3 separate regions of the Homo sapiens genome follow, and all the other regions are linked to region 2. The links are contacts of gene promoters, found by promoter capture Hi-C in blood cells and fetal thymus (Javierre and others, 2016). All regions are on one chromosome and are shown on one strand. Each heading gives the region's core, a stretch centred on a gene start or on the middle of the fragment in contact. The rest is flanking DNA. Distances are from core to core; before and after follow the strand shown. Region 1 holds the start of CENPC (centromere protein C). Region 2 holds the start of ANKRD17 (ankyrin repeat domain 17). Region 3 holds the start of UBA6 (ubiquitin like modifier activating enzyme 6).

What was found. The method cuts DNA at HindIII sites, captures the fragments that hold promoters and counts their contacts. A CHiCAGO score of 5 or more calls a contact.
Region 1: a contact is called between the fragment with the promoter of CENPC here and the fragment with the promoter of ANKRD17 in region 2, in 1 of 17 cell types (naive CD4 T cells). The highest score is 5.5, in naive CD4 T cells.
Region 3: the fragment with the promoter of UBA6 here is called in contact with the fragment with the promoter of ANKRD17 in region 2 in 4 of 17 cell types (total CD4 T cells, non-activated CD4 T cells, total CD8 T cells and 1 more); the score reaches 11.0 in total CD4 T cells.

The regions. Positions count from the first base shown.
Region 1 is chr4:67,543,404-67,547,259 of GRCh38, reverse strand. CENPC (centromere protein C) reads left to right here and starts at 1,757. Exons shown (of 19, transcript NM_001812.4): 1 at 1,757-1,922; 2 at 3,065-3,111. The coding sequence starts at 1,905. RefSeq lists a silencer at 1,473-1,612 and enhancers at 1,435-1,985, 1,763-2,002. The HindIII fragment of the contact is 5,245 bases long and covers 1-2,868 here.
Region 2 is chr4:73,257,173-73,261,259 of GRCh38, reverse strand. It overlaps ANKRD17 (ankyrin repeat domain 17), which reads left to right and starts at 2,462. Exons shown (of 34, transcript NM_032217.5): 1 at 2,462-2,984. The coding sequence starts at 2,592. It overlaps ANKRD17-DT (ANKRD17 divergent transcript), which reads right to left and starts at 2,094. Exons shown (of 5, transcript NR_187399.1): 1 at 1,852-2,094. RefSeq lists enhancers at 1,941-2,210, 1,813-2,409 and a silencer at 2,371-2,770. The HindIII fragment of the contact is 8,436 bases long and covers 1-4,087 here.
Region 3 is chr4:67,698,055-67,702,480 of GRCh38, reverse strand. UBA6 (ubiquitin like modifier activating enzyme 6) reads left to right here and starts at 1,326. Exons shown (of 33, transcript NM_018227.6): 1 at 1,326-1,432. The coding sequence starts at 1,362. UBA6-DT (UBA6 divergent transcript) reads right to left here and starts at 1,203. Exons shown (of 2, transcript NR_015439.1): 1 at 997-1,203. RefSeq lists silencers at 1,233-1,302, 1,433-1,602. The HindIII fragment of the contact is 4,018 bases long and covers 392-4,409 here.

The DNA.
Region 1 (3,856 bases), core at 508-3,007, 5.7 Mb after region 2:
TATGGAAGTAAAACGTTTCTCTGGAAACTGTGGAGTCTCCACAACTGTTTTTATAAGAGTACTGCTCTATTTTCTTTAGAACAGTTAATCCTCAACGCCCTCTGTGGCCTGCTTTCTGCAGCAGCACAAGCCATTGCATTCCAAATTTCTCAAAATAAGTGTGGGACTTAGTTTCCAGTGGAAGCAGGAGGATATAATTTTACATGTGGGACTTTACATCTATAATCGTGCTTGCTAAAATTTCTTACCCAGAGGCAAAGAGTGTAGTGATTAAGAGCTCAGTTGTGGAGTGAGAATTCTTGGGATAATAACCCATCCTACCATTTAGTGGTGATGTGATCTTGGGTAAGACACTTAGCTCTCTGTGTTTCAGTGCCCTTGTTTATAAAACAGGAATATTAATTGTTCTCTTCAATGCATGCAAAGCATTTCAGAACTGGGCATAGAGTATGCAGTCAATAAATGTTAGTGTTTATCATTATCTATTCCAAATGTGACAGCACCAAATTATAAGTTGGACTGATTGGCAAAACTGCCAAACATAGTAAAAAACTCTCCATAATGATTCCAATAGCTTTATTATTGAATTCTTACTATGTTCCAAACATTGTGCTTAGATCTTAACAGGAATTATTCAATTACAACATCTCAACCACTTTAATAGTATTCTCATTTTGCAGACAAGAGAATTAAGGAACAGATAACTTAGTTGCCCATAATGGCAGAATTAATGGAATGGAGTGCAATCCAGGCCTAATTTCAGTCAGAGATCATAGTTCCTTTTTTTCTATCAAAAAAATAAATAAAATAAAAAAATTGGCCTTCATAGTTGACAGCATTTGTTAAAGCACTACATGTTTTAAAAATCTATTAGCTCAACTCCTGATTAATGTATTTATTCAATTAGTAAACTATTTTCTGATTAGAATTTTCTTGTAATTTTAAATTAAATAATAAAATAAGATACAGCTTCATAGAATCATACACTGGTCAGGTGAGAAGTCTTCAGAGCGTCTAATTTAGACTTCCATTCTATCACTATGGAAACACCCAGAATGGTGCCGCAATTTTGCCCTCCATAACATAGCTAGTCAATGGCTGGCAGGTTTCAGGATTCTGTATAGAATTCTTTTCAGTGCATCATACTTAAATGATAGATATTTACGTGGGTCATTTGTTGGCAATGCATCATAAAAATATCGCCCACATACTTGAAAAAGAATACAAGCCATCATCACCATTATTATACATAATTATTCAATTATTTTCAGAGATGATGGTTAGATGGGCTGGGCGTGGCTGACGAATCTGCATTAGAAAAATCTCTTCAAAAAAAGATTCTATTAAAAAAAAAGTCGTCTGCAATTTCTACCTCTCATCCTTCCAAGTATTACTTATTATTCCTTAATAGAACTGTTGAGAAGTTTTACATTGGGCACAAGGAGCGGTTCCCAGGATCGTGCCTTCCTAATAAAAGCCCAGTCTCGCGCCTGTCCCGGGCGCGGCGCTGAGGAAGGGAGGTGGGAAGAGCAGAGCGGCTAGAGGTAGGGCGGGCGGGTGGGTCTGCAGGCTGGAGGGCCGTTGGCCTGGAGCATGAAGGGGCGAGCCCACTAACGGCTTGCTTCCTATTGGACGGCGCGGCCCGTTTTGCGCATGTGTCTCCGGGTTCAAACCCAGGCACAGGCCAAGCGTTCTTGTTTGTTGAGGGCGGAGCCAATGGCGGGGGAGTGTTGTTAGCGCGCGCCTTCCGGATCGCAGCTCTCGCGGCAGTCGCCTGAGACTTAAGGTTATTGCTTGGCCGCGGCCTGGTATTCCGGCGATTCGTTTCTTGCTCGGCTTCCTGGAGCTGTGGTCCGTGTGGGCTTCCACCTCAGACAGTTGCGCTGGCTCAGCGGGGCCGGAACATGGCTGCGTCCGGTCTGGTAAGTGCAGGCCCCCCGCTCCAGGCGAGTGGTTGAGCGGCTGGCTGGGGCACGGGCGCCCGAGGCTGGGGAGAAGGAAATGCTAGGCTGAGGCTGTGATCTCTGAGGGATTTCAGTGGGAAAGCCGCAGGAATTTTTGAAATCAAGTGTGATCGTGTGTCGATAACCAGAGTTAATTTACTGTACTTTTATTATTTCTTAAGTTTTCATGTCGTCATTTCGTCTGTGCCTACGTCTTACTCTTGAGAGGTGCTTGTGATTTCTGCTGGGTTTTTTTTTGTTTTTGTTTTTGAGACGGGGTCTTGCTCTGTCCCCCAGGCTGGAGTGCAGTGGCGCGATCTTGGCTTCTGCTTTTTAGTCTAGCTCCAGTTCCTAGGCCTCCAAATAACTTTTCTCCCCATGGTAGAAGTATTGAAACGCCTTAAAAGTGTGTCTTTGCGTCACACTTGGTAGTTGGGAGAAACAGATTATGTAACAAGTACGTCTCGAAATAATTTGACGTTTTCAGTTCTTCTGTCAAAATGGTGGCCTTTTATGCAGTTCTTGAGGCTGATTTATGGAGCATATGTTATTGACAAACTCTTCTGAAAGACAGCTATCAGTTAAAAGGTACAAGCTGTGAATGACTAATGGGGGCGACAACTCATTTTGTTTACATATTTCTGGACTTCTTTGGTGTTCACTATTCTATATTTCATACTTTGGTTATGGTTACTATATAAAAATCCGTATCATTTCTTTTCTAATTTATCTCCCCTTCTAAGAAAATCTTCAGCTTCGATGATCTCCCATTATGTGACGTTATACATATAAACATAAAGAGTTGTATGAAAGAATAATATAATCTATACTTTTTACTATGAGCACATATATTGTTTACATTATATATAATCAGAAGAAAGCAATAAAGCCATTCTCACTGTGGGGAGAGAAGCGGAATAAAGCTTACCAGATGCCTGCAGTTCAGTTTTTAAATGCCTGTCATAACCTATGTTATGTCATAACATAACCTCAAAATTGTTTTGAGCCCTTAGGAGATGTTTGGTGTATAGCATGCCCATACTGGATGAAGTTACTTTGAAAATAAATTTTACTCGACTCTATCTTAAAGAAACCAAATTGATGATTTACTTTTCTTTCAGGATCATCTCAAAAATGGCTACAGAAGAAGATTTTGTCGACCTTCCAGGTGATTTACGTACTTAAGCTTTTAAGATTATTTTTATTCTCATCGTTAATAGATTTTTAAATGAAGAAAGGAAAAACTATCACCTCTGACTAATATAATGATTTCTGTGCCCACTGATTAAGGGTAGTCATCTTATACTAACGGGAATGTTAATGCAAGCAGTGCAATGACTTTGTGGCTGTGAAAAAAGAAATTCACCTGATAAAATAGTGGAACCAGGAAGAGGGAGTCTCAGTTCTGACTAAGTGACTGCCATGGGAAAAGCATTTTGTAGAATGAATCAAATGGTAAAATTAGAAAGATGTAGCTTATTCAGTGGGGCAAAAAGAAAAATAGTACATGCTGTCGTGCATTTGTTGAGTGCTTGTTTGGGTTGTTTTGGTTCTTCTTTTAGTTGTAAAACCTGTAAAAAGTAAATTTTCTAGTTAAATATTTACTAGTAATAGGATGAAAAGCATGTTTTTAAAAGTGAAGATGTTATTATGAATAACGTCATGTTTATTGAGCTGTGATTTTAGTAGGTCCAATGGGGCACAGAAGTATGTTCTTTTGTTTACAAGAAGCTTAGATTTCTGTTGGGAAAATGTATATGTACATTTGTGAAACAATTTAATGGACAAAAATTATTACTTGCAATACTGAAGTAATGACTTGTGTATCATAGAGAGTAGGCCTATATATAATTAGGCATTAACTTGCAGTATAGACAGCCATGTGAGAAATTAGGGATTTGTGTGTTGTTGAT
Region 2 (4,087 bases), core at 1,213-3,712:
CCTGAGCAACAAGAGCTAAACTCTGTCTCAAAAAAAGAAGTTCATCACATGACTATAACCAACTACAAGGAAAGCTGTGAAATTTAGTTTAGCTGTGTGCCCGGGAAGAAGAAATAAGTTTCATGGGCTAGTCAGTCCCTGCCAGAGGTTCTAACGGGGGGAAAAAAAGATAAAAATAAAAGAAAGTGACTTTACATGCCTTGTCCATTTTAATAGTTTTGAACCTTATCCTACTAGTGAAACAGGATCATCATTTCACTATTATATTAAAGAACAAAAAACTCATTTTCTTCCAAACAATGAGATTACTTTAAAGAGAGCATTTTTGGTAGCACAGCACGATAGACACAGAGACTAGACTGCAGAGGGCTGACAAGTCAATTTCAGAAAACAAAAAAGACACTGATTGTAGACACTTTTTTTTTGAGATGGAGTCTCGCTCTGTCGCCCAAGCTAGAGTGCAGTAGCAGGATCTCAGCTCACTGCAAACTCCGCCTCGCAGGTTCAAGCGATTCTCCTGCTTCAGCCTCCTGAGTATAGAATACTTTTTAAAGAAAGAAAGTTTGCTTGTGAAGGAAATAATTGAAAGCTACAGAAGAATTAGCTAAGGAACCAGAATTTGTAGAAGGTTGACAACAGAAAAGATAATAAATGCATGAGAAAGAGGGGTATTGGAACTAGAATATGTATGAAGAGTTTATCTCATATATGAACAGGGAGTCTCTCATTCGTTGATACTGGAGAAAAGGCAATCTCAGGAAATTTCTAGCACTTGGAAAATTGTGAAGTCTAAGTTAAAAGTCATATAATAAAATGGGCTGGGATTTAAAGATTGCGAAAAGTATTCAAGTGGAAAGGGAGAAAAAGATGCTGAAGAATATACAAAGTAGGAGGGAGGGATGCAGCTGAAATTATAAAATCTAAATCAGTAGTGGTGAGATACACAATGCAGTGCTCTGTTCTACACTGGAACTCAGCAACGACTGTAGGAGAGGAATAGGCAGATGGTTACCACTCCGTATATATATTTACTATAGCACTTATTACACTGTAAAGCCCCTGGAAACAAGAGACTTTGATTCCACAAATTATGCGCACAGTAGGCACATGATGAATTTTTGTTTGAATGAATTGATTTAGTCATTGCCAATTCTGCCTTGGTACTCTGTAGAGTACTGGCAACTGCCCACATTTCATATGGTATGCCAATGCTAAAAAGAAAAAAAATGCTAAAAAAAAAAAAAATCCAGGCATATTCAGCTAAACTAAGCAGTCTTAAAATGGCAACTATGTCAGCTGAGACATACTTTTAATCTTGTGCCAGTACATCTGTCTTTGATGTTTGCTTCATTTTCCGTATGCCACTATACTCCTACTAGACCAGAAAGGGATAATTCTGAGTTCAATGGGCTCCACTATCATTTCAAAAGTCCTGAAACTTCTTCAGACACCTAAAAATGAACCCACAACTCCCATAACAGCATTCCTTCCGAGAGAAGTATACAGACAACAATCACTATTTATGCTTGCTTCCAAGCTGAATCGAAGAGGGCCGGAAGAGCTAAATCAGGGTCATTCAGTGAATCGTCTACAAAGTCTGGCACAGACCACGCATCCTTCCCGTGTCTTCCTCCCCTTGGAAACTTGAGGTGTAAGTAATGATCTTAGACATCTCCTAATCGACTGCCTTCATATTACACACGTGTAAACTCAGGTAGAGGATGTCTATGAGCCGAGCTTAAACTCAGGTAAAGAAGGCTCTTTTCCCAACACGACGCCATCTCTCATGATCCAAAGCTCTATCTCTCGATTTGGCGGTGGAAAAAAATGACCAGGAATAAAACTACGTACAGCAGTCCAGAACGAGGCCCCACCTCCCGGATCTGGCGGACCGGCCTCCCGTCAGCAAAGTGTCTGGACCGCGCTTCCGCACCTCACACTGCCCGGGGCCGGCTCCTCTCCAGCCTCCCCGTACTCCCCACACGCCGCAGCACTGCGCGCCCGCGGGGCCCCAGACCCGGCCCTTGAAATCTCACTTTCGCCTTTCGGCCACCCGCGCGCCACGGCTCAGGCGACGGCTGATGGCGTCACTGCACTTCCGCCTGCGGCTGCGTTCTAATCACAAGCCAGGAAGGAAGAAGGGAGGGCTGCAGGGCTGTGTGTGCGGGAAATAGCGAGGAAAGAGAAGAAATCCGGGAGCTCGCGGGCGCTCTGGTTGCAATCGCGCCCCCCTCATCTGTCCCCGCCGTTCCCCTTCGGAAGCTGCCCCAGGCACACTTCCCCGCTTCTTTCCAGTCTCCTCTCCTCTGGTTCTCCCGACACCCGGTCTCCCTGTTACGCCTCACCCTCCTTCCCTTGCTCCCTCCCTCTCCCTCCCTCCCTCCCTCCCATCGTCAGGCTCCCCGCCCTTAGTATCGCGAGACGAGGTGAGAGCTGGCGGAGCGGCGGCGGCGGCGGCGGCAGTAGAGGTGACCGAGGCGGTGGCGGCGGAGGCGGCACCGATTGCTGTGTCGGCCCCAGTGCGGCCGAAGTCGCGGTAGAGCGTAGCCCCACGCCCCTCCCCCGTCCGCGCCCTCCCTCTTTCCCTGGGGATGGAGAAGGCGACGGTTCCGGTGGCGGCGGCGACGGCTGCAGAAGGAGAAGGGAGCCCCCCGGCGGTGGCGGCTGTGGCGGGCCCCCCCGCGGCGGCGGAGGTCGGCGGCGGCGTTGGCGGCAGCAGCAGAGCTCGCTCGGCCTCGTCTCCTCGTGGGATGGTGCGAGTCTGCGACCTGCTCCTGAAGAAGAAGCCGCCGCAGCAGCAGCACCACAAGGCCAAGCGTAACCGGACTTGCCGACCCCCCAGCAGCAGCGAAAGCAGCAGCGACAGCGACAACAGCGGCGGCGGTGGAGGCGGCGGTGGAGGCGGAGGTGGCGGCGGCGGCACCAGCAGTAACAACAGCGAGGAAGAAGAGGACGACGACGACGAGGAAGAGGAGGTTTCTGAGGCAAGGGCCTGGTTTCAAAGGAAGGAGGGAGGAAGGGACTGTAAGGGATAGGGGCCGAAGGTGGGAGGGGATTTGGAGTGGGACAGATTCCAGTGGGTTGATCTCTTAGGGGCCAGGCTTTCGACTGCCCCCTTTCTTCCCTCGGCCTAAATCGTGAGGTGTGGGAATGTGGGGGAGGGTAGCTGACACGTGGGGGTGGGAGGACCACGGAGTTCACAGAGTTGGTGAACAGCCTGTTATCATGGGATGGCTCACTTGGTTAAGGATGGAGGGAATTGGTTAGATTCCCTGTTTGCACGCCGGGGGGTGGGGGGGTGGTCTGCCTGGGGCCAGTAGGGCCACCTTAGTCTGAGGCGGGATCGGGATCAAAGCGGGAGGAGTAAAATAATGGGTAAATGAGTCTCTTGGGGACCAACTAGGAGGTTGATCAACTTCTCCCAGTTGTGAGGTGGAGGGGAGCAGTTTGAGGGGGGACGTAAGGTTGTAATGGACTCAGAGCTAAGTGTTTGTGTATGTGAGGGACACGTGAGAAGCTGTACTTTTCCATACTGTTCTGCAGGGTTTTTCGTAACTATCCTGGCTGCTGAAGTAACTTCATTTCCTCGATCTCCCAGGGATTTTCGATGAACTGATGCTGTATTTGTATAAATTTATCAGTAACTTTAAATAATTACAAATGACCATATACATTTGTAAGTGGATGAAAAATATATTTGATCCTTACACGTACATACATACATGCCTTCGAATGTTTCCTTAGTGAGTTAGAATTAAGCTAGGACCTGTTGTCCCGTAATATGGGACAGCCAAAGGGTAGGCTTTGGAGCCAGGCCTGGTTGTGGTGAGTTGGAATAGGAAGGCCTCTCGGTTTGTCCTAGTGATCTGGTTTCATAATAACTTTATAATTTTTCCTGGGTCCACAGACAGGCGGCGTTGCAGGACCTTATTCCTCACAGAAGCCCTTACAACCCAAAGGCTCAGTAAAACATACCATACTGACAACCAACTGAGAGTTAGCTTTACTAGTTATTAGCTGTTTTACCACTCTCTTGTCTCCTTCCTGAAATAGAATCTAGAAAAATCTTTATTTGGAGAGGGAAATC
Region 3 (4,426 bases), core at 77-2,576, 5.6 Mb after region 2:
ATTGTTTTGGCCTAGCCTTCTACACTAGGCCCCATCAGATCAAACCAGAATGGAGTTGCTTGTGCTAAGCACCATGTAATTAAAGTGGATTTTGAAAAAATGAGCCAGTTTTTTTTAAAAAAACAGGAGATTCTAGTTAACCTAGTGGGCATAATAAGGAAGTATGCTCTGTTTTAACCTTTACAAGGAAAGAAACTTTGAAATAATCTGATTTTTGTTCTGTTTCTGCTTTCTTCAATCTTTTTCATTATCTTCAGTCCTGTAGCATTATCTTAGTGCTAGAGCAGAGCCTTGAAAGAATAGAACACAGATCAAGAACATTTTAATGTGGAAAAGGTTCACAACTGGATTGAGGAACACGGATAATGCTATAGGTGAGCAACATAAAGCTTCCAGGTATTTTAAGATGTGCAATTTTGAAGAGAATAGAGGGCACGAAGGATAATACAGTTTTGCCTGGACCCTCATCTCCATATGAGAGGAAAAATTTCTAATTAAAAATATGATACATCACAGAAAATTACATAATACCCAAAGTATATGCTAATTTTAAAAATCCTGCAGATGTTTATTCAAATATACAGTGTTATTTAGTGAAAGACAAATCCTAATGTTATTGTGTCCAACTCATTTTTGCTTTCTAAGAAAGGTGACACGGAAGTAAATGAAAAAGAATTATATGAGAACTTTTTAGATATGTGTTCTGGTAATCTAACAGTGACTAGCTCTATAACCTTGACCAAGTCACTTGCACTGACCGGAAGTTCCTTTCCCTTACCCACAAATTTAAGGGACCAAACTGGATGATCTAACGACATCTATGGCACTAAAAGTCACATGATTCTATTAAATCTGAGGCAGCGCCTCACATGTAGTGGACTCCCAAAATTATTTATTAAATGTATAACATCTTTAAGTGGTATCCCCTCACTGACAATCTGGAGCTATTAGCAGCCTTCAGTTTATTTATAAAATAAAGCTGTTTCCTCTTCTTACCGTTAAGACTCTTTTAAGGATTTGCAACGCTATCCCATCATTTCGCGGGTTACTAGAGTCCTGCATGTTTGGCTGTAGAGCAAGGGTGACGCGTAACTTCTGGACTTTGGTTCCATCTACATCTGCCGGATGCGGATGCCAGTCGCAACAGTAACGCCCCCTTCGGCCACCTGCACCACAGCACGCCATGCGGCCACACCCAAACCGGAAACCAGGACGCCCCTAGGGTTGACGGGAAGGCGCTGCCGGGCTCCTAGCTTCCCCAGGCCCGCCCCCTCTGATGACGTCTCCGCCCGCCCCTTGACCCCCCCACGGTCCCGCCCCTTCCTACCTTCCAGTAGCCGGCGGCGGTGTCTCAGGCGGCAATGGAAGGATCCGAGCCTGTGGCCGCCCATCAGGGGGAAGAGGCGTCCTGTTCTTCCTGGGGGACTGGCAGGTGAGAGGACGAGAAGGGCGAAGGTGAGGGGTCGCGGGTGGGACCCAGGCTCCGGGTTTCTGCTTCTTTCTTTCCGGCGGGCTGGGGGCGCCCGAGAGGCCGCGGGGCCGAGCAGAGCCGGCCCTGGGAGGCGAGGGGCGCGCGCGGAGTGGGTGTGGCGACGTGGGCTAGGGCCTCTGCTGTTGCCGGCTTTCCTGAGGGAAAAGTCCCCTTTCCGCACCTTTGAGGGCTTTCTCAGTTCTGGCTGGGATTCGGGATCCTCCTTCCTCCAAGTCACCAGACTTGGGGGGCTCCGGTCGAGAGCGAGTTCTGGTCTCGGTCACTTGGCGTGAGCTTCCCCGACTGGTGCCAAGCACCTTTCCTCCTTTCCGTAAAAAGAAAGCTAGGAGCGCCACTGTGCACCTCCACTGAGATCCTCTTTTGAAAACTATTACCAGAAGGAACTTGGTAAGAATGAATCAGTAGCAATCTGGACACCCTGAGGCCTTTGTTGACTTCGGAAGAAGGAAAAAAAAAAAGCCAGGAAAAAAAAATACACAAGTTACCCATTCTTATTTCCCACTTGGTTTTGAAGTTCTTCAGGTCTTTCCCGCCCCTGTAAAATTAGGGGGAAAATATTTGTGCTAGGCCTTTACCAATTTCTTGGTTAGTAGTTCCTCTTTCAATCATCTCATAATTAATAAAGCAAGTGGTTACATTCTATCCACCACTGTCAGAATACACCATGCCAAAGATAGAATTGATGGATGTATTATTTTCAGCTGATGTGAGACTTTGTAAACCTGTAGCCTTTTCGCCAGTTTCAGACTGAAGGGATGCTTTCAGTTTCATGGTGTTGTCTGCCATTGCCAACACTGCCAGAGTGGAGGGATATTATGTAATATAACCCGCGCCTTATTTGAAGCGTTTTTGATTGTCTTATAGATCATATTATTTTTACATATTTTTGAAACATTCCAGTGAGGCACAACTTTCTGAAAAGGGCCAGTCACGCCATTAAGTGGCAGAGCTAGTTAGACTGCAGCTGTTCTCGTTTTTATTCAGATTTACCCACCAGGCCTATTGCCCCCGCCATGCAAGGAAAACAGCAAGTGAAAGTGTACTAGGGATAAAATGATAGGAAAGTAGATAATAAAAAACTTTGGCCGGGCGCAGTGGCTCAAACGCTTGCAATCCCAGCGCTTTGGGAGGTCGAAGCAGGCGGGTCGCTTGAGCTCAGGAGTTCTTAGACTAGCCTGGGCAACATGGCGAAACCGCGTCTCTACAAAATACAAAAAAATTAGCTGGGCGTAGGTGATGCACGCCTGTAGTCCCAGCTACTCGGGAGGCTAAGATGAGAGGATCGCTTGAGTCTAGAGAGATCGAGGCTGCAGTGAGCCGAGATCGTGCCACTGCACTCCAGTCTGGGTGACAGAGAGAGACCCTGTCTCAAAAAAAAAGAAAAGAAACAAATTTTGTTAATTTTTATATTTTGTTACAATGCCCAAACAGGGTATATTGTGTATGTGTGTGTTTTTTATTAGGTAGGTGATCTCTTAGAACACAGCTATCTTCTGATTTGCCTTGGTAATTGGAATCAGTTTTTTTAATAGCTATCCGTTTAATTAGCTAGAAGCTGGTATCATTTGATATGTGCCAGTGTTTGGTGAGATAAATGATAACATTTTAATTACCTTTGTTTACAAATTCTTTGGCTTATTTATCAATGCTAGGACTAGAAAGTTGGATTCCAAGCCTGAATTTGATGCCATCGCATTGTTTTTAGAATCTTTTAATTGACAACTAGAGCTTCTCAGAACTAGGAATGGCCTCCACTTCTGCCAGTATATTGATCTCAGCTCTCACAGTGGTTCAGCTCCAAATGCTCCAGACTGGTTCCCTGTACCTGGGAATTATCTCTGCTTGCCAGTGTTTAGTACAGATACGTTTTTTGAAGGCCATGCTGTGAAAATGGGACGAGCACTGCTATAAATAATATGTTACTATAATAAGTATACTTTGTCAGATTTGCATATTTAGATTAGTTTTTTTCCTTTAAAATTTATTCATTTAACAGGGTTTTTTTGTTTTGTTTTGTTTGTTTGTTTTTTGACAGAGTCTTGCTCTTGTCACCCAGGCTGGAGTACAGTGGTGGGATCTTGGCTCACTGCAGCCTCCTCCTCCCGGGTTCAAGCGATTCTCCCACCTCAGCCTCCCAAGTAGCTGGGAATACAGGCGCCTGCTACTACATCTGGCTAATTTTTGTATTTTTAGTAGAGACAGGGTTTCACCACGTTGGTCAGGCTGGTCTCGAACTCCTGACTTCAGGTGGTCCGCCTGCCTTGGCCTCCCAAAGTGCTGGGATTACAAGCATGAGCCACCGCGCCCATCCCATTTAACAGGTTTTTTTAAGTGTTTCCTTTATGTCTAATATCAGAAACAGTAGGCAGTATGTGTGGTAGTCAAGAGCTAGACTGCCTGGGTTCAGATCCTGGCAGTGCCATTTGCCTGCTCTGTGACTTTGGGCAAATTTTAAGTTAACCTCCCTCAGCCTCTTTTTTCCATCTGTTCGTTGGAGATAGCAATAGTGCTTGCCCACTGTTTGGACAAGGTTGTTGTAAGGGTTAACTGAATAAGTACATCTAAAGCACTTAAATATGTAGCACAGGGTTATCTATTATTATTAAATGCCTGGTACTGTTTTAGGTATTTGGAATACAGTAGTGAGTTTTTAACAGACCATACATTTTTTTGGTAGTAGTGGCAGACAGTTAACGGTAAGTGATTTGAAGAAACTGACAGGTTAATGAGTTAGGCAGCAACCTAAGGATAAGAGTAGCCATTTTATTGATAGGGTGATCAGGAATGAGGTGTGTGGTATTTGTGACACAATATTTTAATAGAGGCTTAAGTGACAAGAAGTCAGCTATTCCGAGATTTTAAGAAAGAACATTCTAAGCAGAAGAAATAGGTAAAAACTCTGAAATGAGAGCAAGCTTGCCTTCTTGCGAAACA